Linked DNA regions of Homo sapiens: all the other regions are linked to region 5. The links are contacts of gene promoters, found by promoter capture Hi-C in blood cells and fetal thymus (Javierre and others, 2016). All regions are on one chromosome and are shown on one strand. Each heading gives the region's core, a stretch centred on a gene start or on the middle of the fragment in contact. The rest is flanking DNA. Distances are from core to core; before and after follow the strand shown.

Evidence for each region. The method cuts DNA at HindIII sites, captures the fragments that hold promoters and counts their contacts. A CHiCAGO score of 5 or more calls a contact.
Region 1: a fragment that was not itself captured here is called in contact with the fragment with the promoter of OLIG3 in region 5 in 2 of 17 cell types (naive B cells and total B cells); the score reaches 8.7 in naive B cells.
Region 2: a fragment that was not itself captured here is called in contact with the fragment with the promoter of OLIG3 in region 5 in 1 of 17 cell types (M2 macrophages); the score reaches 5.4 in M2 macrophages.
Region 3: a contact is called between a fragment that was not itself captured here and the fragment with the promoter of OLIG3 in region 5, in 4 of 17 cell types (M2 macrophages, total B cells, M0 macrophages and 1 more). The highest score is 6.9, in M2 macrophages.
Region 4: a fragment that was not itself captured here is called in contact with the fragment with the promoter of OLIG3 in region 5 in 1 of 17 cell types (monocytes); the score reaches 5.7 in monocytes.
Region 6: a fragment that was not itself captured here is called in contact with the fragment with the promoter of OLIG3 in region 5 in 3 of 17 cell types (naive B cells, total B cells and monocytes); the score reaches 9.3 in naive B cells.

The regions. Positions count from the first base shown.
Region 1 is chr6:137,078,765-137,083,487 of GRCh38, forward strand. No RefSeq gene overlaps it. Among named protein-coding and RNA genes, the nearest start is that of IL20RA, 36 kb to the left of the region's middle. The HindIII fragment of the contact is 2,389 bases long and covers 1,587-3,975 here.
Region 2 is chr6:137,055,838-137,060,118 of GRCh38, forward strand. No RefSeq gene overlaps it. Among named protein-coding and RNA genes, the nearest start is that of IL20RA, 13 kb to the left of the region's middle. The HindIII fragment of the contact is 4,141 bases long and covers 361-4,281 here.
Region 3 is chr6:137,038,274-137,042,475 of GRCh38, forward strand. All of the region lies in intron 1 of IL20RA (interleukin 20 receptor subunit alpha), which reads right to left. Among named protein-coding and RNA genes, the nearest start is that of IL20RA, 4.6 kb to the right of the region's middle. The HindIII fragment of the contact is 1,077 bases long and covers 1,744-2,820 here.
Region 4 is chr6:137,120,217-137,124,599 of GRCh38, forward strand. No RefSeq gene overlaps it. Among named protein-coding and RNA genes, the nearest start is that of IL22RA2, 51 kb to the right of the region's middle. RefSeq lists enhancers at 1,336-1,505, 3,891-4,060. The HindIII fragment of the contact is 5,847 bases long and covers 1-4,383 here.
Region 5 is chr6:137,491,343-137,495,877 of GRCh38, forward strand. It overlaps OLIG3 (oligodendrocyte transcription factor 3), which reads right to left and starts at 3,052. Exons shown (of 1, transcript NM_175747.2): 1 at 857-3,052. The coding sequence starts at 2,828. The coding sequence ends at 2,010. RefSeq lists enhancers at 1,962-2,461, 4,143-4,535. The HindIII fragment of the contact is 6,431 bases long and covers 1-4,535 here.
Region 6 is chr6:137,096,972-137,101,250 of GRCh38, forward strand. No RefSeq gene overlaps it. Among named protein-coding and RNA genes, the nearest start is that of IL20RA, 54 kb to the left of the region's middle. RefSeq lists enhancers at 129-298, 894-1,063. The HindIII fragment of the contact is 2,230 bases long and covers 890-3,119 here.

The sequences.
Region 1 (4,723 bases), core at 1,531-4,030, 410 kb before region 5:
CTTCTGTAACCAACTGTTTGTTTATTTTTCAATCGGTTTTGGGGGAACAGGTGGTGTTTGGTTACATGACTAAGTTTTTTAGTGGTGATTTCTGAGATTTTGGTGCACCCATCACCTGAGCAGTGTACACTGTACCCAATATATAGTCTTTTATCCCTTACCCACCTCCTACACTTTCCCCGGAGTCCTCAAAGTACATTGTATCATTCTTCTGCCTTTGCATCCTCATAGCTTAGCTCCCACTTATGAATGAGGACACATGATGTTTGGCTTTCAATTCCTGAGTTACTTCACTTAGAATAATGGTCTGCAATATAATCCAGGTTGCTGCAAATGCCATTATTTCATTCATTTTTATGGTCGAGTAATATTCCATGGTGTATATATATATACATATATATATATTTCAAATATATATACACATATATATATTCCAAATATATATACACATCTATATATTCCAAATATATATACACATCTATATATTCCAAATATATATACACATATATATATTCCAAATATATATATACAGATATATATATTCCAAATATATATATACATATATATATATTCCAAATATATATATACATATATATATTCCAAATATATATATACATATATATATATTCCAAATATATATATATATATATATATATATATATATATATATATATATATATATACCACAATTTCTTTATCCACTCACTGATTGACGGGCGTTTGGGCTGATTCCATATTTTTGCAATTGCGAATTGTGCTGCTATAAACACATGTGTGCAAGTATCTTTTTCGTATAATGACTTCTTTTCCTCTGGGTAGATACCCAGGAGTGGGATTGCTGGATCAAATGGTAGATCTACTTTTAGTTCCTTATGGATCTCCACGCTACTTTCCAGAGTGTTTGTGCTAGTTTACATTCTCCCTAGCAGTGTAAAAGTCTTCCCTTTTCACCACATCCATGCCAACATCTATTATTTTTTGATTTTTTGATTATGGCCATTCTTGCAGGAGTGAGGGTGGTATCGCATTGTGGTTTTGATTTGTATTTCCCTGGTCGTTAGTGATGTTGAGCATTTTTTCATGTTTGTTGGCCATTTGTGTATCTTCTTTTGAGAATTGTCTATTCATGTCCTTAGTCCACTTTTTGATGGGATTGTTTATTTTTTTCTTGCAGATTTGTTTGAGTTCCTTGTAGATTCTGGATATTAGTCCTTTGTCGGATGTATAGATTGGGAAGATTTTCTCCCACTCTGTGGGTTGTCTGTTTACTCTGCTGATTATTTCTTTTGCTGTGCAGCAGCTTTTTAGTTTAAGTCTCATCTATTGATCTTTGTTTTTGTTACATTTGCTTTTGGGTTCCTGAAATCCTTGCCTAAGCCAAGGTCTAGAAGGGTTTTTTTGATGTTATCTTCTAGAATTTTTGTGCTGTGTAACCAATTGTCTTCGGTTGGGTCCCCTGAAAACAGCTCTGATATGGAGATGTATGGGCAGCAGTTTATTGGTGAGTGCTCCAAGGATCAACACTGGGAAGGTGCAAGGGAAGCGATATTCCTAGAGAGGCACAACTGTGATGTAGTTTCAACAGAAGCTTTGGCCAAGCCCAGAAGGGGCCCTGGAGCTGGGATGGCCATTCAGAGTTGTTCCATTTATAGCAAGGGGCTACTGGGCCTTGGAACCTGCAGCCATTAGTCCCTGGGTGCTGGATGCTTCCGAAGAGGGCAGCATACTTTGAGTAAAGCAGCTTTCTTCAGCCAAGGGCAGTTCCATAAGAGAGACATAGCTGTGTGCAGCCAACACCTCTGGCTGCTGGGAAACCAATACTTCAGTCTGAGGTTGGGATCTTGGTGGTACAGCTGAACCCCACTACAGAAATCCTGCCAGACTTCACACAGTGGGTATTCAAGAAATTATTGATGGGTTCTTTTAGTTCTATAAAACATGAACCTGTTACTATTGCAGGGCTTTTTCCTTAGCTCAGCTAAAGACAGGGGTCCTTATCACACGGCCAGGAAAATTTAGGCTCGCAGATGATTGAAGGGTGAGAATTATGGAATTTATTGGGCAAAAAGGAAAAAAAAAGGGGAAACAGGGACTTTCCGCAAGGCCAGAGTTCCTGCTGGGGTGCTTCCCAGCCCACTGTTTGCACCCCAGGTTCCACACAGGAAGAGGAGGGGCCGGGATCCTCCCTGCTGCAAACAGCAGGAACCTCTGTGGCTCCATCCCACTGTGCATTCCTCCCAGGGCCCAGGCAGCTGGAGTTTTTCCAGGGAACCCCTCCCACCTGGCTTTCTCATTATCTTGACCCTTCTTTGCTTCTGTCTCTGCTCTCAGATTCAATCTTCATTGACTCATCATTTCTACCTTTTATTCTTCTGAATATCTTCACCTGGCAGAAAAGGAAAATTGGACTAGAAAGCCTACTATCCAGCAGGCAGTATGCTGGGGACTTCACATATGCCCTGTTTCCAAATACTAATGTTTATTCTTTTTGTCCTCCAAAATTTGTTAAAACTATTTTACCTCTGTTCCATCTTTTTATTTCTGAGATTTTGTTTCATAAAATTGTTCTAAACTTCATTTTTAAATGAAGACATCTGGTGATGGCATGTACACTCATTGCAGGAATGAAATGAAAATAGACAAGAACCAAAAAGATATTTCCCCAATAGCAATTAACCATATGAATTGCTTCATTATTTTATTAAGTTACTAAAATTGATACATACTTCCTATTTAACTGTAATTTTGCAATGGCAAGAGCTGTAAATAAAGGTCATATATTTATATATGTGTATATTATTAGTAGATTTCTGCAAACAATAATTGCAATAAAAATAAATTTTTAAATGAATCATTTCACAGCTCTCCATAAGCCTGCTAAATCCTATATCATGCACTCTATAATTCTTAATGAGATATTTATTTCTAGTCTTTTGTAGCCCCAACCAGGTAGTAAAAATGAAATGATGTCACCTGGATTGCCATATCATTTTGTCCATATGACCTATTATCATCTTTTAAAAACTTGGATTATTATATTTTTATCTTAGAATCTGCTCACTATTTTGATCTATTTCCTCTTATGGTTTTGGGTATTAAATATTCAGTCTAGTGGCATTAGCACAGTACTAGAAGTAAAATAGCCTGGGTTTTAGAATGAGCCTTGGTTTTCTCACATGTGAAACAGAATTGATGTTCGTATCATATGCTGCAGTGAGATGGGTTAAGAAAAACTATGGAGAAGAGGTTTGAAAACAGTAAGATGTTGTAAAAAATGAAAGTATTATTACTAAAATAGAAAGATATAAGAAGAAAGAAAAGTAAAATCTGTCCACTGGCAGTGGCCTGTCTTCCAGGCATTTCACACAGGTTATTTCACAGCCATGCTGCGACGCAGGTATTGTTTATCCCCATTTTATGGATGAGAATGCTGAGGCTGAGAGAGGCTCAATAACCACTTGATGCCATTGATTGGTAATAGTGTCTGAGTCCTAATTCACATCTAGCTCTTTGGATTCCGAGTCTTGCCTTCTTTCCACTGCACCAAAACTGACTCTCAATTAATTGTGGATAATCAGTGGAAATCAGTTTACTCTTGGGAATCTTTCCATTTATGCCCCCTCCCATTGCTTTCAAAATCACCTCTGGTGTGTTCCTTGAAATCTTAGAGAGGCAGTGGATTGTAATTTAAGAATTTTTGCTTATAGCAGCACAGTTTACCGTGTTGCCCATATTTGTTCTGGATCAAGGGATTGGAACCCTCAAATACATGTCAGCACTGCTAGTTATATATATTTTTCTATGTCTAATTGCAATCCTTAGTAAGAAGAAATAGGTTTGAGGATGCATCTTTCAGGTCAGTTCCAGAAGGTCGGGAGGTGCAAATGAGCTGAGCTGTTGATTCAGTTGAGATCATTTTGATGAGTACATGCTTGCATGTGGGTCTATAATGTGGTTCATCTCCATAAAATCCCAAGCTTTATGGGTTTGAAAGCATTAACTCATGTCTTAGAAACATCCCACATAGATTATTATAATTCTTGGTGCGCTGCCTGACCATCTGCTTACCTACAGGAATTACAATCACATGTAATGGCCCTGCGCAAATCTAGGCTCAGAAAAGAAATATGAGAATACCTGAGTCCTTTTCTGTTCTGTTGAAACAGCACTATTTTTTACACCCTGCTCAGCATAATAATGAAAAATGTGTTAATTTGTGACTTTTCTTGCTTCAAAATGATGAGAATAGGAAAATACTTAGTTATATACTTTTTCCTCTTGTTGTTCTATGAGAATATATTGATCATCTCATGCAGCATCCCTCCCTTCTTTCCTTCCTTCTCCACAGATATTGTATTGACAGCTGTTAAGTGCTGGCACTGTGCTAGTCTGCAGGACACAGAAGCAAACAAGCAGTCACAGCACTTGCCCTTATAAGCATCACACTCTAGTGGGTGAGACAGACATTAAACATAATTTCACTGAGAACCTTGGGATTACACTTGTTGTGAGTGCTATGTTTGAAAATTCCTGGATGCTGTGAAAACAATGGAGGGGAAATGAGGAAGAATAATTTATTAGCATTTTCTTACATGAGATTATTTTTCTTGTTATTTTGTTGTCAGAAAGAAACATTACAGAATTCAACAGGCCATCTCTCATGGCTTTCTTTTCTACTTTCCTCTCCACTTCTTGGCCATTCTCAACAATTGCCTGTGGGTGT
Region 2 (4,281 bases), core at 1,181-3,680, 440 kb before region 5:
AAACTTCATGACCTTGAGTAGGAAAATGGTTTCTTAAATATGACAGAAAAATCACAAGCAATTAAAGAGAACTAGGTAAATTGTACTTATCAAAATTTAAAACATAGGTAAATCGTACTTATCAAAATTAAAAATTATTGCACTTCAAAGAACACCACCAAAACAGTGAAAAGACACCAAATGAATGACAGAAAATATTTGGAAATCGTATGTCTAATGAGACTTGATTCTAAAATATATAAATAACTCTTATAGCTTGATAATGAAATGACAAATAACTCAAGTAAAAAATGGGCACAGGGCTTGACAAGACATTTCTCCAAAGAAGATCTACAAATGGCTAATAAGCACAGGAGAAGAAGCTTGACATCATTACTCATCAGGAAAATGCAGTTTAAAACCACAGTGAAACCCACACTTCATACCCATGAGGGTAAAAGTGCCATATTATAATAACAAAGACAACAATATTGTCAAGGATGTAGAGAAATCAAAGCCTTCATACACTGCTGGTGAGCCTATAAAATGAGTCAGCCACTTTGGAAAACAGTGTGTCAGTTACTAAAATGGTTAAACAAAGAGCTATGATATGACCCAGCACTTCCAATCCTAGGTATCTAACAAAGAGAAAAGAAAATACATGTCCACACAAACACTTGTACACAAATATTCATAGCAATGTTATTTATAATAGCCCCAAATTGGAAACAACCCAAATGTCCATCAACTGATGAATGGATAAATAAAATGAGGCGTATCCATGCAATAAAACATTATTTGTCAAAAAGAATGGAGTATGGATACATGGATGGATTAGCCCTGAAAACATATGCTAAGTGAAAGAGGCCAGTCACAAAAGGCCACACATTCTATTTATATGAAATAAATTCTATTTATATGGAATGTCCATAATAGGCAATTTTATAGAGACAGACAATAGATTAGTTGCTTTCAGGCGCTGGGGCAGGTGGTGGTTGAGAGTGGTTTGGGGGTGACGGCTAAACAGTAGAGTTTTTTTTCTGGGGTAATGAAAATATTCCCAAATTGATTGTGATGATGGTAGCTCAATTTTGCAAACATGCTAAAAACCACTGAGTTACACACTTCACATGAATACATTGCATGATATGTGAATTACAGCTCCATAAAGCATTGCCAAAAAATTACACTGAGAAAATGGATGCGAATCCATCATAACAAAACAGCGTTTATTCAACAAATGTAAAGTTGTTTTAACATTAGAAAAATCAGTAGTTGTAATTCACTACAAATACAAATAAAGGAGAAAAATCAGATGTCTATTTAAATAGGACAAAACAAAAAAAAAATCTGGCAACTTCTGAATAGAAGTCAACTTCCTTCATCTAATAATGAAGATCTTAATGCTTCATGAGCATATACTTAATGATGACATACTGAAAGTATCTCCTTAAGGTCAGGAATAAACCAAGTGTGTCTCCTGTCATTCCTTCTGAATTCAATATTATGCTGGATGTCCCAGCCATTATGGCAGGGAAGAAAAAGAAAGAAAGTCATAAGAATTAGAAATGATGATAAAATTGTTATCTTTCATAGATAATATGATTATATGCACAGACAGTGGAAAAGTATCTCTGGGTAATTTACAAATATGAATGTGAGAGTTTATAGGATTCTATTCATGCATTCAATGTCCTCAAAGCAATTGCACGCCAATAATACATAGTTAAAATGAAATAAAAGTACTATTTTGTAATAACGTGAAAAATATCTAAGACATACAAGATCTTTATAGGAAAATGTATGAACTTTCATTGAGTGACTTTGAAGAAGGCCTTTTTAAATGGAGGGATATGGATTGTGGTTATGGACTGAGGACTCAATATCTCTCAAAATTAGGTTACAGATGTAATACGATTCCAACAACATTGTAACAGATTTTTATGAAACTTGACAAAGTGATTATAAAATTTGAGTGGAATTGCAAAGGTCTAAAAATAATCAAGGCGTTTTTGAAAAAGTTTAGAGAGGGAGAGTTTCCCTTACACATAACAAGACTTATAAAATTACCTTCAGACATTGTGGTAGACAAAAAGATCTATGAAACAGTATATAGAGTCCCAAATTTAGGGACATTTGATAAGTGAAAGGGACATTTCAGATTAGTGGGGAAAGGACAGGATTTTCAGTGAGTGGTTCTGGGAAAACTGGGTATGTACTTTATTTTACATCACCTTCAAAATAATTTAAGTAAATTAAAGAGCTGTTGTGGGTTGAATGATGTCCCCCCAAATTCAAATGTTGAAGTCGTAACCCCCAGTACCTCAGAATATGACCTTATTCAGAAATAAGGTTATTGCAGATGTAATCAGTGAAGTTAGGATGAGGTCATACTGGAGTAGGGTGGGCCCTTCATCCAAATGACTGTGTCCTTATAATCAGGGGAAATCTGGATACAGACACATGCATAGGGACAATGTCACATGAACATAAAAGCAGAGATGGGGCGATGTGTCTGTAAGCTAAGGAACACCAGAGACTCCTGATAAACCACCAGAAGCCAGGAGAGAGAGAGAGACACGGAACAGATTTTTTCTCATAGGCCTCAGAAGGAACCAATTCTGCCAAAACCTTGATTTCAGACTTGTAGCCCCTCAAAACGTCAGACACTTTCTGTTATTTAAGCCACTCAGTTTGTGGTACTTTGTTATTACGGCCCTAACAAGCCAATATAAGAGCTAAATGCGAAGGAAGATTTTCAAAGACCAGATAGTAGAACATCTATATGACCCTGGGGTCAGAGAGTGTTTCTTAGACATAAAAAGTCTAGCCATAAATCAGAAGATTGACAGTCTGATTACATTAACATAAAGAATTTCTGCCATGAAAAGACACTAAAAGAGAGAAGAGACAAACTGCAAACTGGAAGAATATATATGCATCATATATAACATATATTATGCAGAACACTACGCTTTATATATACATATACTCTGGATATTAGGTAATTTTCACTTAATCTCAAAGAAGTTTTTTTAACTCAAGGATTTGTAATGTTGTTTCATCATTTCTTTTCTATTTTCAGGTTGAGAACTACTATGGAAACATTACTGCTGACAACAGAAACAATGGCTTCTAGGAGGGTTTATAAATAGTTGCAGAAGTTACTTCAGTCAGTACCATAAAAAATGATGGTCATAAAGAAGATGAAAATCCTTGCAAGTGTTGAATGACCTTGGCATTCACGATCACTGAAAAAATTCTCAATGCAACAACTGTTGATAATAATTCAGCTGGTGGTTGTACCTGCCAGGGATGCTAATTAGCTAGAGTATGTGAAAAGAAACTAAAGATTCCTCTTTTGTGGTATGGAAAAACAAAGCACAATATTAACAGTTTGCTTTAGTTCAAATCCAGAGGTAGTCTGGTTTCACCTCAGATGTAGCATAGTTCTCTTTTCTGGGTAATTTAAGGAATTAAGGCCTGAAGAGTTTTGAAAATGCTAGGTTAGCACACGGGTTATTTGGGGGCTTTTAATTTTAAAATAGGGCCTAGAAGAACCAAGATAATCTTGAAGAAGAAAAGTAAGTTTGGACCAGCCTGGGCAACACGGCAAAAACCTGTCTCTACTAAAAACATAAAAATTACCCGGGCATGGTGGCGTGTGCCTGTAATCTCAGCTACTCAGGAGGCTGAGGTGGGAGAATCACCTGAGCCCAGGAGTCAGAGGTTGCAGTGAACCAAGATCGTGCCACTGCACTCCAGCCTGGGTGACACAGCAAGACCCTGTCTCAAAAAAAAAAAAAGAAAAAAAAAAAAGAAAAAATAAGATTGGGCAACTTACATCAAGATATCAAAATTTATTATAAAGCTACAGATTAGTAAATTAGATTTCATTAGAATTAACAACTGTTGATTACCAAAACACACCATTAAGAGAGTGAAAGAGTAGAGGTCAGAAGATACTTGCAATACATATGTATGTCAAAAGAAAGCAGATAATATACCTCTTACAAATCAGCAAGAAAAAGATACACCAATCCACTATAAAAATGGGCAAAACTTTGAACAGATACTTTACAAAAGAAGATATCAAAATAGAAAACAGGCCTCTCTACATCACTGGTCATCAGGGAAATGTAAGTTAAAACCACAAGGAGATACTAATACACTCCCGTTTTGATGGTTAAACAATACCAAGTGCTGGTGAGACATTGGAACATCTAGAACATTCTTACATTGCTGGTGTTAAATTGGTTAAACTGGTTAAATCAGAAAACAAATGATTTTCCAGATGGAGCC
Region 3 (4,202 bases), core at 1,032-3,531, 450 kb before region 5:
GGTGCGATCATAGCTCACTGCAGCCCCAAACTCCTGGGCTCAAGTGATCCTCCTGCCTCAGCTTCCCAAGCAGCTAGGCATTACCAAGCCTGGCTATTTTTTGAAATTTTTTTGTAGAGATGGGGTCTCTCCTGGCTGCTCTCAAATTCCTGGCCTCAAGTGACCCTTCTGCCTCAACCTCCCAAAGCTCTGGGATTACAGGCATGACCCATTGCCCTTGGCCTTGTTCTCCAATTTTATATGTAATTGATAGACCTTGGAATTGATTAAAGTGATTTAATTCATGTTTCTCATATCAAATTTTGTGTTATGTCATAAACTGTAGACTAAGAAAATGTAAAAATGCTGTCAGAACATCACGATGATAGCAAAAGTATAATGTTATAATTAAGATGGATAATGCGATTTTACTCCATAAAATATATGCTGCCTGAAGCCTCAGATGATCATTTTTTTTAAATCAATATGGAAGTCAGCATGTCAATGACACCTGGTAAAATTGTACTTTGAAGAAAATGGTGCAAATAGAAAGTCATTTTTAAAATGTAACGCATATAATGAAAGTTGCTTTTAAGAAAGCCATACAACTTTACAGAACAATCATTTTGTGAAAAATACTATGCCAAGCACTAAAAAAGGCAACATAGAGATATACAGTTTCATTAAAAAATTATAAAAACAGCAAAAGTTTTATGTTGAAATGTTTATACTAAAATCTTAATTTTAAAGCAATAATCCCACTTGCCTATTGTCTTTACCCACAGTTTATGAGTAAGTGAAATATATATGTCCTACCTTATGGTTCTAAGAGTCAGAGCTAAACGAAAAGGTATAATCAGGGAGGTGGTGCTTCCTCCTCAGCCCTACTATGTCGTTCCTATTCCATGCCGCTTTCCATGGGTAACCAATCTCCTTGGCTGCTCTCCAGGTCGCAAATACTGCCTTTCCTGAATTCATTCTATAGGAAGCTGAGTAGTTCTAGGCAGGAGGAGTGCACATTGTGAGGAGTGAGGCTGGAGATACCTGTAGCCATAAGCTTGGATGTTGGGTACATGATACTCTCTGGGGAGGCTGGGGCTGGGCCTCAAGCTGATAGATCAGGAGGCCTGCAAATCTATAGATAAGAAATCACCCCAAGTCTGCTTGAAGGGCAATAGGAGAGAGGCTGGAAAAGAAGACATGCTTTTTTGATAAAAAGAACACTTGAGCGAGCAAATCCTCCATTAGCTGCAGTACAGAAATCAGATTTAGACCTGGATCTTAAAACATACACATATTTGCTCATCGGTGCAAAAGAAATTCAGGAAAAATAAACAAGAAATGAAGGAGATGGCATGGAATGTGGACCAAGAACAAAGTAGAAATGATGTCAGAATATCACAATGACAGTGTAAGTACAACATCGTAATCACATTTATAGTGTAATGGGAAAGAGGTGGTGGTATGGTGAGGAATAGAAAGGAGGTAGTAGGGCTCAGAAGGGAGCCACACTTGTCTGAGAAAACCGTTTTGTATAGCTCTGACTTTTATAAGCACAGTAATATTTCACCTAGCTGCCAAATGCCCCAAATGTCACAAACAAAACAACTAGCATGAGGGGGAACCCAAATTGTAATACAAGCAGTTTAACAAATGAACTGAACTTATCCCAAATGGATAGAATAACCACACCAAAAGGAGTAAAGAAAAAAAAGGACTAAGCCAGGTAACTTTGGTCAATAGTATCTTCATGGGATATTATAAAGCTTAAGACCAGAAAACTGTACATAAAGGCTATAATTTAGTAAGTACACGTTTTTCTCATAAGAGCATGAGTTAGCAATCCTGAAAATATTTATATTAGAATCAGGCAAATAAGTCTATTGTAGATAATGACATCTGGGTTTCTCACTGTTAGACAAAGAGGCTGTAAATGAAAGAGGAAGGCTAGAATGAAACTTGATTGTTAGGTTGAAATTAGTGGCACCATTACAAACTCACGGTCTTAAATATATATACACACCCACAGATACATACAGAAATATAGATGTGTGTGTATAACTACGTTAGTCTATACACACATATTTCCCAGCTCCGTCCACCGAGAGCACCTAGAAACAACATTCCAGTAGCAATAAGCATGCCTCACACCCAGATTTTGGTTTCTAAACACCTTTCTCCAATAGAAGGAACCAGAGCTTCCTGAGGAAGTCATTAATTCCAGGCCTGGGGCAGGGAAAACACTAGATGAGTCTGGAATGTTGTTGGCACTAGAAAGTTAATGAAGTGCTCAAAAAAGATGGGGTTCCTTAGAGGGACACAGGAGCCAAACTGAAGGAACTCTTAGTGGCCAAAGCTGGAACAGCATGAGCAATAAAACTGATAATGATAGTATTGGATTATAAATGAAAGAAGAAGACACATCCATGAGTCCATACTGATATACTTAACCAATTGAATAAATACCTAAAAAGGCAAAAATGATGACCCTTCCTTGTAATAGAATTCCAATGAATAAATGTGGAAAAAAAGAGTGAAATAAAAAATCACTACTAGGTATAGTAGTTTTTGCAGTCAAAATCCACCGATAGATACTAAAAATAGTTGGGTGTGAGTTTGGGGATAAGCAGGATTTTTGCATAATCTCAAAGTATCTCTCTGCAAAATATTTATTAGTCACACAGTGAAAAATCGTAACTTTATAGTAAGAAACTCTGAAGAGACCACCTTAACCAAGCGATCAAGGTTAACATCACCAATAAGAAGACATGTTGATATTACAAATCCTTTGAAGTGACAATTTATGTGGCATTTCTGCCAAAATTGAATAACCTCATTCTAAGCTTGAGGAAACTTTACATGAACCCAAACTGAGGGATATTCTAAGGAAGAGGTAACTGGGACTCTTCAAAAGTATCAAGGTCATGAAAGCAAAGAAAGGCTGAGGATCTGTCACCAGTTGGAGAAGACTAAGGGGACATGACCACTAAATGTAATGGGAGATCCTGGACTGGATCCCGAAACAGAAAAAGGGCATTATTGGAAAAATGGGTGATACTCCAGCAAGGTCTATAGTTTAGTGAGTAGCACTATACCAGTGTTAATTTCCTGGTCTGAACATTGTACAATGGTTACATAAGATGTTTTAATTGGGAGAAACCAGGTGAGAGGGATATGGGAATTCTTTGTGCTATTTCTGAAACTTCTCTGCAAGTCCCAAATTAGTTCAAAATTAAAAGTTAAAAAAAGAAAATAATTCTGCAAGTTTAATTAGTTCACTAGAATCATTTATGTCCCTGTGTATGTGTGTGTGTGAGTGAAGTATGTCCTGGAATAACTTCTCAGTGAAATAAAATACGGAATGCTGCCATGTTTGTATCAAAGAAGAGACATTTTGACTAATACTCTCACTCCATTAAGTCATTCTAATAAGCATAGTTGTTGTTTGGTATTTAGACTGCAATCTAAAGCTCCAAAACTCAAGTTTATTTGTTAATAGACATCATAAGCTATACTTTTTTCCTCTTTGGGGATTTAGGGAAGACCCTGTTATTTTTTTTTAAATATATATATATATATACTGTAAGTTCTGGAATACATGTGCAGAACATGCAGGTTTCTTACATAGGTATACATGTGCCATGGTGGTTTGTTGCACTCATCAATCTGTCATCTACATTAGGTATTTCTCCTAACGCTATCCCTCCCCTAGCCCCCACCCCCCGACAGGCTCTGGTGTGTGATGTTCCCCTCCCTGTGTCCATGTGTTTTCATTGTTGAACTCCCTAGGGAAGACCTTCTTGAGGGAAGCACATTGGCAGGAGAGGCCAAAGTCTGAGCAGGAGTTAGCTGGGAATAGAGTGGCACAGCAGCATTCTAGCAGAGGGGCTGCCAGTATGAATCTCCAGTAGGAACTTCCAGAGGAACTGCCAGTATGAGTGAGATGGGAAACACTTTGGCTTGTCTGGGAAGTAGAAAAAGGCCAGGATAGCAGGAATTAGGTGGTGTGAGATAAGGCTGGAGAGACAGGCAGGAGTTGGCCACACAGGATCTTGTAGAACTGAGAATGATTCCAGGAACAGTAGAAGCCTCTGAAGGGCTTTGAGCAGAGGAGGCAGATGACCTGAGAAGTCACCATCTCCCATTCTATCTTAGTGACTTTAAATGCCTGTTTATATTATGCTAATCATGGTTCTTTATCGTTCCTGAGAACAGGATATGGG
Region 4 (4,383 bases), core at 1,272-3,771, 370 kb before region 5:
ATACAGTGAATTAGTTCTTCTGGGACTTAAGAACCAAGTGGCTGAGCTGCTTGTTGGCAGTATGAACTAGAAAAGTCATCTCTTTTTCTGGGCTGAACTCAAATACAAAAATTTTCAATTCATCTAGTAAACGCAAGGGACTGTAAACCAAATGTTGCTTCCAAACCCTGAGGAGGTCCACCGAGTGACCTTTTTTAATGGTAGGGGGTAAAAAGGATAGCGACATGTCACTTAATTCAGAGGGTATCTCACAGTGTGCTGAACCTCCTAGGACTTGACTGATTGGGTAGGTTCCTGAATTTTATGAATTTTATTTCCTTCCCTCTGGCACACACGTATCCTACTAAATCATGTGGGTGAGGGTTACTTCTGGCTCTCCAGCTCTGTCAGCCCAGTCTCCTCTGAGCAGTAGACAGTGCCATGTCCTGCAGATGGTAGAGCACTCCAGTTCTCTCCTGAAGGTGTGTTTCTGGTGTTCTATATTGACTAAAATAGAGAAAAATAGATTTGCCTGATGAAAAGCTGCATACTGGTTTTCAGAGGTTGTGTTGACTTTCTCCAATCAATGACTGTTTTTTCAACAGCAGCTATAACAGGAGTTACTACCTGATTAAACCTACAATTACTCTTTGTCATTTTCCAAAACCCACTTACTTTTTTTCAGACCAAAAAAGCTAGTGAATGAGTATACAGGCACATGGTAATAAAAGTCAAACAAACTTCCATTTGTTTGTATTAGAGCTTTTAAATCTTCTAGAGACAATACCTCCCTTCATTCCTCTAAAGCCTTGACTTCAAGGGACATTTTATTCCAGGGTATCATAGAGGAAATTTGATTAAAGGCAAGCATTAGCTTCTAGTGTCCCATCTCTTACCTATGTTTTCACTGCCCTCAGCTCTAACAAGGCTAAAATATACACACAAATTTTCTCTGTCTCTCAAGGCCTGTTATTTGGAACCAGTGATGGTACTAATTTATGTAGTAGGCTGGTCTCTTAGGTGTAAGCAGCAGAAACCAAATCTGGGTAATTTAAACAGAAAAAGGACGGTATTAAAAGGATGTTGATTAGAGAAAAGCAATTTGAAACCATAAGCAGGAACTAAACCAGCTTTAACTTTCTGCTGATTCCTTCATTAATAATGAGTTCAATAAATCTTTAACATGTGTTATATTCATGAGGCTGGGAGATCTGTTTTAACTGAATATTGTACTTTGACAATTTTTGGAGATTCCACATAGATGTCCCAGGAAACTCCCCTTCTGAAATTAATTAGGCTTATTGAATTTTGCACTGATTGATGCCAGGTATTTCTTGTGCTCTTGGAGACAATCTCAAGCAGCAATAAACACTTACCCTGCTGGCTCTGTTTCTCTGTTCTTTTCCCTTCTTCAAGTCTGTTTTTGTTTTTGTTTCTGTTTCTGTTCTGAGCTACATCTATTCATCCAATTATGCCTTGTCTAATTTAAGTTTGGTCCATATTTATTTTTTCACTGAAGTTCAGGGACTAGTATTAATACATACCCAGCCTGTCTCTACTGAGATCGCCACCCTGTGTACATGTGAGTCTGGCTTGTGCACAGCTAATCTGTTACTCTCCTTTTGTGGCAGCAGTGGATGGAGATCTGGTTCTATGCACTGACTTTTTTTGTCATCTCTGTTGGAATGACAAAGATCTATTCTTCTTTGGCAGATACTATACACACACACACACACACACACACATTGTGAGCTTTGCTGGTCTGCTAAAATGCTAGTGTACGAAAGACAGTTCTCAATGTCCTGTCTTCCAGAGTTTTCCATGAAAGAGAAATTAATTACTTTGTTTAAAAGTTATGATTACTCTATGTGGTTGAGACTATCCTAAGTAAAGTGGAGGCAGAGAAGTATGAATGTAGAATCTAGGTAATAATGGGATGAGTTATTATTTAGCAAGGAAGAGAAAGAGTAGACTTTCTTATAGGAGAGCATCTTGTTAAAGAAGTAGTAAAGAAAAAACCTGATATGATATTTAAGGTTTATAGAAGGCTTGCAGAAAGAGAATTTTATTTGCCTTGGATTAATACCTAAAGGTAAATGAATCTGAAAAGAAGCAACACAATGTGCTAAAAGTTTTGGCAAAGTTGGCTCAATTTTGACAGGTTTGTTTGTAAGATTTTTTTAAAAAAGAAAACACATGAATACCGTGTTAATGCAAGACTATAAATTTTTTCCTCTGTTAAAATGTGATAAGTTGGACTTGCAGTCCTCAGTCTGTGCTTATTAAGAGGTAGTAAATTATCCTTTACCTTTGTGTTATTTCAAATGGCAGAGATTACATATCTCATCAAAATAACTTTCTATGCTTTATGCTGACTTTGGTTTGTTTTTTGTTTGTTTGTTTTTTAAAGACAGGTTCTCGCTCTGTCACCAAGGCTGGAGTGCAGTGACATGATCATAGCTCACTGTAACTGTGAACCCCTGGCCTCAAGCAATCCTCCTGCCTTCGCCTCCCAAAGTGTCTAGATTACAGGCATGAGTCATTTGTACCTGGCCTGTTCTTGATTATTAAACAAACAAGTAAGCAAGCAAGCAAAGAATAAAAGTTACTTCTGAGTAAGCTAAGTTTTCCTACGATGGTGTTACCTTCTGTTGGGTTTATTTTTAAATGCTACATGAGCCTCTTATTAATAAGGGGCCAAACCACCTACTATGGCTATACGCTGATCACTAGCACCTGTGTAATGCTCTGAACTAGAAACCATCCACTTGTGTTGTTTCAGTTTTGCCTTCCCAAGATCAGATCTTAGATTCATAAAATTTTTTTCTTAAAAACGTTTTGCACTAAACAAACTATGTGGTTCCTCTGAGGTTCTTCCCAGATTAAAAATTGATTTTTTAAATTAAACTTTATAAAAAGAGGGGGGCTAAAAATAATTAGTTTTGGGGTGGTCTATTTTTCTTAACTCGTTCAACGCTATCATGACAGCTTCATGGAAAAGGTTAAATAAATGAGGCTCAGCTGTTCCTAGGTTAGTTCTGTGCTGGTAAAGTCCTACTGATAAGTGTGTTTCAGAGCTTGTTACAACTTGGCAGGATGGATTGGAAAGCCCTGGATATTTGTTAACAATTCTAACTGTTTATAGACTATTCTTATCTTCAGGGGAAATATTGATCAAATCCTCAGAAGGCAATTATGTATTATACCCTAGTAGAAAATTTTACTTTCCTTCATTCTGATTTTGTTAGTTATTATACTAACTGCAGCCAGTCTGTCTTCTTATAAACCAGTGGTCTCAGCCCTTCTCTTATACTTGCCTGAAGCCTCTGCTATAAGCTACAACTCTAGAAATGGATCTTTATCAAAAAAGGATAGTTTCAGAAATTTAGTGGAAAGGACTCTACCAGAAACTTCTACACTTATTGTTACTTCCAAGACTGGACTCACGCAGACATGGCTTCTGAGTGGGCATTACTTAGACTACTGTCAGACTGTCCAGAAAAGACATGAACTCTTGAAACTAGACTTCTCCCCAATATCCAGTGAGGCAAGACTTAATTAAGACAAATGATGGGCCGGGCATGGTGGCTCATGCCTGTAATCCCAGCACTTTGGGAGGCCAAGGCAGGTGGATCACGAGGTCAGGAGTTCGAGACCAGCCTGGCCAAGATGATGAAACCCCGTCTCTACTAAAAATACAAAAATTAACCAGGTGTGGTGGCGGGCGCCTGTAATCCAAACTACTCAGGAGGCTGAGGCAGGAGAATCACTTGAACCCGGGAGGCGTAGTTTGCAATAAGCTGAGATTGCGCCACTGCACTCTAGCCTGGGTGATAGAGCAAGACTCTGTCTCAAGAAAAAAAAAGAAAAAAAGAAAAATGATGAAATGATGAGAATACAAAACTGTGATTTTTTATTGGAATAATGTTAGCATTAGTTTTGATATCATATCTTTTCTTTTTTTTTAGTTCCCTGCAAGTGTTCCACATCTATGTTATATTTTTGATAGGTATATGATGGATACTGCTACTTAATCTATTCTTAACTCTTTTATTTCCAATCTTATTTTATTAGGACATTTTAAAAAGAGTATCTTATGGTCATTGATCCTTCAGTAATCAGCAACAATTATTTTTACCGAATCCCTTTTCTTTCAGTGGCAATGTAGTTACCTACATAGATTCAATAAAACCTTTTTAACAGACAATTAATTTTACAAATTAATTGACAAGTTCCAAATTATTTTTTTAGAGTGCCAATAAATTTATTTAAATATGTATGACTAGTCAACCATTAAAAAGCAAGAGTTGTACTTCACATATGAAACCAATGCTAAAAAGCCTCCTAGGAAGCTGTTCTGGTGTCTATTTCATGGTTTATAGAGACCCAGCCTTACAGGAAGTA
Region 5 (4,535 bases), core at 1,802-4,301:
ATGGAGGCTTGTGTTGTTGGGGCTATCCTCACTACAGCTCGATTTATTGTCCCCTTTAAACAAATAGACAAAACTGTCTTGCTGGATTACTCCTGCTTAGACAAACCATTTAGAAGTGTTATGGCGGGAGGTGAAAAGAGAAAAGTAGTTTATTAAAATGACTCCCGTTTTAGCTGACTTTTTTGTAGAAGATGCCCAATGTATATAGCTAATCAGACCAGCAATCTTCTAAGGGAAGAAAGAAGGGAGGATTCTCGCTATAAATCTGCAAGATTCTGAGACTTGGGTGGTGGTTTGACTCACCCGGAGCTCACCTTACAAAGCAGAGAAGCCTTCCCTTTCTCTGTAGGCCATGCTTCCGAGGGTGCAGGCAAGCAGGGTGAGTATTTGACTATTTTCTAAGACCACTCTTTGTTGACTTTTAAAATGTATACTAGATTTTAACATGGGGGGAAAAGCACAAGTTCAATTTAAAGTGAAAAGAAGTTAACGTACTGCTTCATCCTTGTTTGTTGCCAACACAGTCATCGTAGTGACACTCCACCTCTCATTTCCTGCCACTTTAAGTTTCCAGATTACTTTTTAAAATTCAATTCTCGAGTTTATGAGGGTCTGATTACTGCAGAGAAATGAGCTCAAATAGCATAATACTATGAATGTGGGCAATGCCCGCTTGAAGGACATTTAGTTCCAAAAATCAGCACCAATTTACCCATCCTGTTTACTTGTACGTAATCACGGAAAACCTTCACATCTGCCCACCCATCCAAATTCCTCACCCAGATACACCTTACCTGGTCCACGTGTTTCCTATCCCACTACCCCCATCTGCTAAGATTTTAGGCAAAGGCAAAGCCACGATTTAAAGGTTCTTTTTTATTTGAAATCTCATCCAGAAACACTGGTTATTAATAAATATATCATAGTTATCAAGAATATATAAAAAATAAAGACAGGTATCGTCTTTGAGGCCCTAACAAAATATTTCAAGCAAATGTTCAGGAAAATAAAAACGGCACCCCTCCCAAAACCAGGATAAGTTTTCAAAGCTGATAATAGAGAGAGCCAACCCCGCATGCAGAATAACTGAGCGAGGGGGGGTGGCGCAAGCTACTAGAGGGAGCCCAGGCTTTTACAATAGCGGCCCCAGAACAGCAAAGGAAGGTTCCGAATAAAGTTTGAAGGGGGTGGGGGTGGGAGAAGAAGCGCGTGTGCGTGAGTGTGGGTCTTTGCACTCTGCCCCTTTTTTCATTTCATACAACCACAGACAGATATATGGAGTACTTGGGATAATTCACTAATAAATCCTTGTTACAAGGAAAACGGCACCACAGCCTGCACGACATATTCAGACAAGATTCATTTAGAAGCGTGCATGCATTCTTTTGACCTACACTGCGTCGAAAGGAAAACCCACATAGGAGGTGTCATGCCCTGGACCTCGGTTGAGATTCAAAACTTGGGTCTTGATCTCTCTCGCGCTCTCTCTCTCTTTCTCTCTCCATTGTCTCTAGAAAAACTGTGGCAAGGACAGAGACAATCATAATCGCATCCATCTCAAGAAAATATTTACATTTGTTTTGCACAAAAGGGATGGCCGTCTTTTTCCAAAGCGAGAACACAGAGTCAGAGAAAGCCAACTCAAAAGTCCCTTCGCAAGTTTTTAACTACACCGATCCCATCTTTATACAACAAATGCAGTTTTGACAAGAGCATATGGCAGTGAAAAATACTGGCGCGGCATGGGGAAAAGAAGCATGCATGCAAAACACACGACATCTGGTTCGAGTCCCCCTTTGCTACCACCTAGAAATTGCGGTTTGATTTTGGTCCTTTCCCTCCGGGGGTCAAGTGGAGTCTGAGATCTCTCAGACAGCGTGGGAGGCTGCGGGCCCCGGAGCCTGCCCTCCCGTGGGCCGAGCGTGCAGCCTCCCTCTTCCCTCCCGGCCCGGCACCGCGGCCCCTCCCGCCGCTCTCCCTCCTCCTTGGCAGCCGGGCCCGCCCGCTGCTCACTTGAGCAAGTCCTTGGACTCGGCCGACAGCCGGGCCATGTTGGCTGTGGAGAGAGCGGACAGGTGCGGCGGCGGCGGCATCTGGCAGATGGTGCAGGGGCAGGGCAGACCAGCCCAGTGCTGGAAGCCGCTGCCCAGCTGCAGCGCGGGCGGCGTGGAGGGCGCCTTGAGTAGCGAGTGGGGAGGCCGGATGGTGCCGATGGCGGGAAGTGAGGCGGCGGACAGCGGTGACGAGGCGTTGCCAGATGAGAGCGCGCCGCCCAAGATGGGGTGCACCGGGTGCACGGAGTTGGCCGCGTGCGCGGGGTGGCCGGCCGAGTGGCCCACGGTCCCGCAGTGAAAGGCCGAGTGGTGGCCCCCATAGATCTCGCCAACCAGCCTCTTCATCTCCTCCAGGGAGCTGGTGAGCATGAGGATGTAGTTTCTGGCGAGCAGGAGTGTGGCGATCTTGGAGAGCTTGCGCACCGACGGCCCATGCGCGTAGGGCATGACTTCGCGCAGCCCGTCCATGGCTAGGTTCAGGTCGTGCATCCGCTTGCGTTCGCGTCCGTTGATCTTCAGCCTCAACTGCTGTAGGTCCTGCTCCGACAGCTGCTTCTTGATTTTGTACTTGCTGCTCTCTCCCGCGGCCTTGGCGCCAGCCCGCGAGAGGCTTTCCCCGGGCATCTTCTGCATCATATCGCCCTGCGTGGACGAGACCGAGTTGAGACGGCTCTCCTGGTGGTGGTGGTGGCGGTGGTGGTGGTCCCTCAGGTACATCTCATCCATGTCCGGAGATGAAGCTCTGCTGGAGACAGAGCTCGAATCAGAATTCATTTTATTACAGGGGATGCGGCCCTACCGTGGGGAGGCTTTAGGCGGGAAATTAAAGAAAATCTTGAATTAAAAAAAAAAAATCTGCACTGCCCAGGAACCCACTTCTCCGCGGCAAGACGTGAGAAGAAAAGCGGAGACGCTGCTTTTCCCCGCCTCTCTCCCTCCCACGCCCCTCTCTCTGGTTAGGCTGCTTCCTGGACAGCTAGTTGGTGTGTGCTTGAACTAACCTCACGCTGAAAAAGAGGGGCTTTTATAGAGCTGCGGCGGAGAAAAGAGACAAAAGGAGCCCTCCTATCTATCCTGGGCTGGTTAGGATGACGTGCCATCATTCAGGGCGGTGCGCTTTGCTGTCCCATTTAGCAAGGATTCCTATTCATATTCATTGTGGGGCCGCCCTGGGACACCTCTGCTCCGAACCGCTAGGAGCCCCCAGGCACAAAACCCTCTGATTGACACACTCACCGCTCCAGCTTACGCCTTCCTGATTTTTTTTTTAACTTTCTTCCACCCCACCCCCCTTCCCAATTTCTCTAACCAAATCACACATCAGGAACGGAAGGAAGGCAAGAGAAGGTGGCCAGGCGGTTGGTGGAGGTTCCTCTGAGTTTGGAGAGAGGAATTGAAACATTCGCTCTCCTTTCTTTCCTGGCTGCTCCCAAGTTTAGAGAAATATGGGCAAAAATAGGTCTCAGTGGAAAGGTTTGAGGGACAGAGGTGCGGTCGGAGGGAAGGTGCTGCCAGCGGGGGCTGGGGGTGGTGGGAAGACTGCATGCCGACTTTCTCTGTCTCAATATTTTTTTTTCATTAGATCTCTTTTCCTAAACACTTCCATTCTGTCAATTTTGTTTATTGGGCCCTTCTGGTGTGGTTTCAACGGGATGTCCATGTTCGGTGATGGCTTTGCTCCTGGCAGTATTGTGGCGGAGAGGTCTCTTATTTTCTGTGTCCTCTCTTTCGTTTTAAAACATGGATTTCTAAAAGAATTTCAGTTTTGCACAATTCTTTAACTTCCTAGACCAAAAACTGCGAAAAAAAAATGTTAATGTCACAAGAAAAGCAACTTGGGAGGATGGGAAGGAAAAGGAGCCAAGGAGGCAGAGAGAGAGATTGTTAGGTTCCTGAGAGCTCCAGAGAGATTGTTCCCACTCCAGGCTTCCTGGACCTTGGCGCTGGCGCAAAACGGTGGGACGGTCCGCGCCCGAAGCTCCGCCGGGCCTCCTCTGGCCGCTGTGCTGACGTGCCCCGAGCTCCGGGAACTCAGCGGCACCCCGGCCTGCGCGGGTGGGTCCACCAGGCTGGGGCCGCCGTACGGCGTCGGACAGGGAAATCAGAAGCTCATAATAAACTATCTGATGTCGGGGTGGTGGGGCGGGGGGGTGGGGTGCGTGGGCAAAGAAGCACGGGGGAAGGGAAACAACGAAAGGACCTAGAAAGCCCCTTGTGCGTGCCCGGGCACTGCGGTTCAGCGCAGAGTCGTTTCTGGGAATAAAGAGGAGGTCGGAGTTTGGAGCCTTCGGTGCGAGTGCGGAGGTGGGCGTAGATCTTTCTTCCCCCTTGCTGTGTTTTTGTGATCAAGACTTTAGCTCAGCAGCACGAGGGGCGGGAAGGCAGAAATCCCGGGAAGGGAGAGAGCCCCAGGAGTGGTCTCTAGAAGAACCCGGACACCGCCCCTCTCCCGGCTTGGTGGAACGGGAAACAAACGCTAGC
Region 6 (4,279 bases), core at 755-3,254, 400 kb before region 5:
AATTGATGTTAAAGTCTTTAATGACTCCTTTTTATACCAAATAACTCTCTCTTTTTTTCTTTTTACCAACTCTCTGATATGCAAATGTATGTCTGGAGTACCATAAAAAGGATTTTATTTTTCAAAAATAAACAAAGGGAGAATGTAGGTAACAAAATCTAATACAGAAGATGTATTTAACATCATGGTATAGTAGAAAAAAACAAGTTATTCTGTCTTGCATCATTGATGTTTATAAGTCACTTGATGAGCCATTATGAAACATCTCTGTTTGTAACATGCAAAGTTAACAGCTGGGTCATATTTATAGCATTCTACTCAATACCATGCCTCAGAGTCCAGGTTGAGAATTTGTGATTTGCAATTGATAGGCATATTTGCCTTCAGACATTGGAAAACTCTGAAATAGGAAAAAATAATGAAGACATTGTAAAGTATTTCTTTCCCTCTGGCAAGTAAAAGATTAATTACTGTTAGTATACCAGCTCTTTCTTATAAGAAATCATCCTGAAATCCTAAAATAGCCGCTTCATATCAGAGTGATATCCAGAAGCCTCTTTCAATATCTGTCCTAAAGGACAAAATGCCCACCCTCCAAACAGTCGAAGACAGATTTTTCATGGGGCATATTGTTGAATTTTGTGATGAATCTTGCTGAATTATTTAGCCTTTGGCAGCAAAATGTGGCTGGGAAGAACATGGACTGCGTGGCTTCACCACAGCAGCTCAGGTAGATGTCCTTGGGCTTGAACTTTCTGAACTTTGGCTCACTCTGATGAAATGGGAAAAACAACGGCAACTTTACAGAGTTGTTTCAAAGACTATATAAGAATTACAATAATAGCTAAGATTCTTGAAAAAATTTCCATTTGCCAGACACTGACTAGAAAGCTTGATATAGACTTGTCATTTCAAACAGATCAAATCTATATGGAAAAGGCACTTCATGAATTAGGCCACAGAAATGTGAATTTATTCCTCCTTCCTCTGTTATTTGAAACTCTCATAAAAGGGACTTTTTTTTTTGAGACGGGATCTCACTCTGTTGCCCAGGCTGGAGTGCAGTGGCACGATCATAGCTCAATGCAGCCTCCAACTTCTAGGCTCAGGTGATCCTCCTGTCTCAGCCTACTGAGTAGCTAGGACTACAGGTGTGTGCCATCATGCCTAGCTAGTTAAAAAAATTTTTTTGTAGGGGTATTGCTATGTCCCCTAGGGTGGTCTGGGACTCCTGGCTTCAAGCTATCCTCCTGCCTTGGCTTCCCAAAGTGCTAGGATTACAGGCCTGAGCCACTGCACCTGGCCAAGAATGATGTTTTTTTTTTTTTGTTTTTTTGTTTTTGAGACACAGTCTCGCTCTGTCACCCAGGGTGGAGTGCAGTGGCGCAATCTTGGCTCACTGCAACCTCTGCCTCCCTGGTTCAAGCGATTCTCCTGCCTCAGCCTCCCGAGTAACTGGGACTACAGGCGCGTGCCACCATGCCCAGCTAATTTTTTGTATTTTTAGTAGAGATAGGGTTTCACCATGTTGGCCAGGCTGGTCTCGAATTCCTGACCTCAGGTGATCCACCCACCTCGGCCTCCCAAAGTGCTGGGATTACAGGTGTGAGCCACCGCACCCAGCCGCCAAGAATGATTTTTAATGAGAACCTAACAGCTTAAAGGACATAGCTATGTACCTTCCCATTTCCCAATAGTTGAAGAGCCTTAAGATTTTTTCTACTTTTTGTTTGTGTTGCAAAATGAGTATTATAATTTAATCCCTTTTCTGTTGATAGGTGTGAATAGTATTTTGCTTTAAGTTTTAAAATTACTAATTAATTGAACAATAAAAAATTACCAAAATTTGTATTTCCCTTTATAAAACTGCTTATGTCTTTTTCCTATTTATTTATTGTTTTCATGTTTTTCTTATTGATCTATAAGAGTTCTTCATATGCTAAGAATATTAACTTTTTATTCATTAACTGTTGCAAAAAACTTTACACCTCTCTTTTTGTCTTTTAATTTGGTTTATGCTAAATTTTAAGACTCATAAAATTTACAGCTTTATGGGGTTATAAAGTCTATTAGTCTTTTTTCATTATGACTTCTTCCATTGTTTCTATATTCTAAAAGCTATTTACCTTCCAGAGATCAGAAAAATAGTAAAGTGCTTTCTTCTTTTTTTATTTTTTTTGAGATGGAGTCTTGCTCTGTCGCCCAGGCTGGAGTGCAGTGGCATGGTCTCGGCTCACTGCACTCCGCCTCCCTGGTTCACGCCATTCTCCTGCCTCAGCCTCCTGAGTAGCTGGGACTATAGATGCCCACCACCACACCTGGCTCTCTGGCTAATTTTTGTATTTTTAGTAGAGACAGGGTTTCACCGTGTTAGCCAGGATGGTCTCAATCTCCTGACCTTGTGATCCGCCCGCCTCGGCCTCCCAAAGTGCTGGGATTACAGGCGTGAGCCACCGCACCCGGCCTGCAAAGTGCTTTCTTCTAAGTTTATTTTTGGTTTGAGTTTTTTCAGTCTAATTCTTTGGTTAATCTAGAATTTGTTTTGATGCATGGTGTGAGAGGAGAATGAGAACTTTCTTTTGGCCTAACCACAATGACAGGCCCATATATCTACCTGTTAAAATAAATGGAAAAAGACACCCCAGGCAAACACTCAATGCCAAGAAATCAATTAGTGGATTTTCTTCTTGGAAATACTATCTTGTTACAAAGGAGAAAAATGCTTAGGAAACTTTTATATAACTTCAGGTTTAGCCCAAGATTTTTTAAACACAGGAAAATCTCTTTCCCTTTTTTCTTATTCAAGGCATACAGTACGTTACTTTTACCTTATTTCAGAGTATCCATGTCTGGTTTTGTTGATGTATAAACACTTGGAGGCTTCTCTCTCTCTCTCTCTGACTCTCTCGTCACACATACATATCTTCCTCATTTGGCCACCCCCTCACTTCCTAAACCTTGCATGAAAAAAAAAAAAGGTTACCTTCAGGTGAATGAGTAACTTAGAGTTGTGATACAAAGGACTTGCTGGGTTAATTCCCTGCCGTGTTGCAAGTTAAGACCTCAGGAGGGATCCTGATTGAGATTGAAGCTATATACATAAATAAATCCCCAGCCGAAGCTTGATTTGAATAGATATATGGGAGCTGGGGACAGAATTGACCAGATGCTGGACCATATGATAAACACAGAGGATCACGGTGTGGTATAAAACCTGGGCAGTTCCATGGTACAGCTGGCCGTGCATAATCTTCTGCTAATTTATAAGGCGGGAGCATCTGCTCTTTCACTGCCACTCTCCAATTTTCTAACAACCTTATCCTTGGGTCTCTGGTTTAAAGCAGCCCCATGACGTGGCAGGAAAGAAAGGAGGGTTATCACCAGGGAAAAATGACACTGCCCAGAATCCTGACTTTCAGAGAAAAAAGAGAAAAGGCCTTGATTCTTATCCTGACTAAGCCTTCTTTTTTGGATAGTGTCATTTTGAAATCATTCTTTTAGATAGGGCATCTTGGGTTGCCATCACGGGATAGTGTCTTTCTCTATAAGAAGATTCTTTCTGCCCCTTAATCTATTAGAGGAGGCTGGGCACCATGGCTCATGTCTGTAATTTCAGCACTTTGGGAGGCCGAGGTGAGTGGATCACTGGAGTTCAGGAGTTCAAGACCAGCCTGGCCAACATGGTGAAACCCCGTCTCTAATAAAGATAGAAAAATTAGCCAAACGTGGTGGCTCACGCCTGTAATCCTAGTTACTCAGGAGGCTGAGACAGGACAATCACTTCAACCCGGGAGATGGAGGCTGCAGTAATCTGAGATTGTGCCACTGCACTCCAGCCTGAGCGACAGAGTGAGACTCTGTCTTAAAAAAAATAAAAGAAGTCTGTAAGAGAAGAATTTAGGCCAAACTAAAGCCTCAGATTGCTTTCAGTTGAGATAATACTGTTTCTGTTTAATTCAAAGCAACTAGTATTTTCTGGGGACTACATAGGCAAAATTGAGAAGCAGGAGTTATAATGCCCTCCTGGCCCTGGAACTTCCCAAACACCCATTGAGAAGGCCTGTCTCCCTACTCATGATTCTTTCTCCTCTTACTCTTTCGACTTCCTGCCAGGCAGGTTGGGGTTATGGTGGTGGCATGCCTCTCATTAACTACTACATTAGGCCCAGCTTTCTGCTACATCTTTGTTTAACCACATTGATGTATTAGTTGATAGAGGCTTAAAATATTTTTATCTTAAAAGAGACATCTGACACTGATGTTAAAAGGCTCAAAGGAA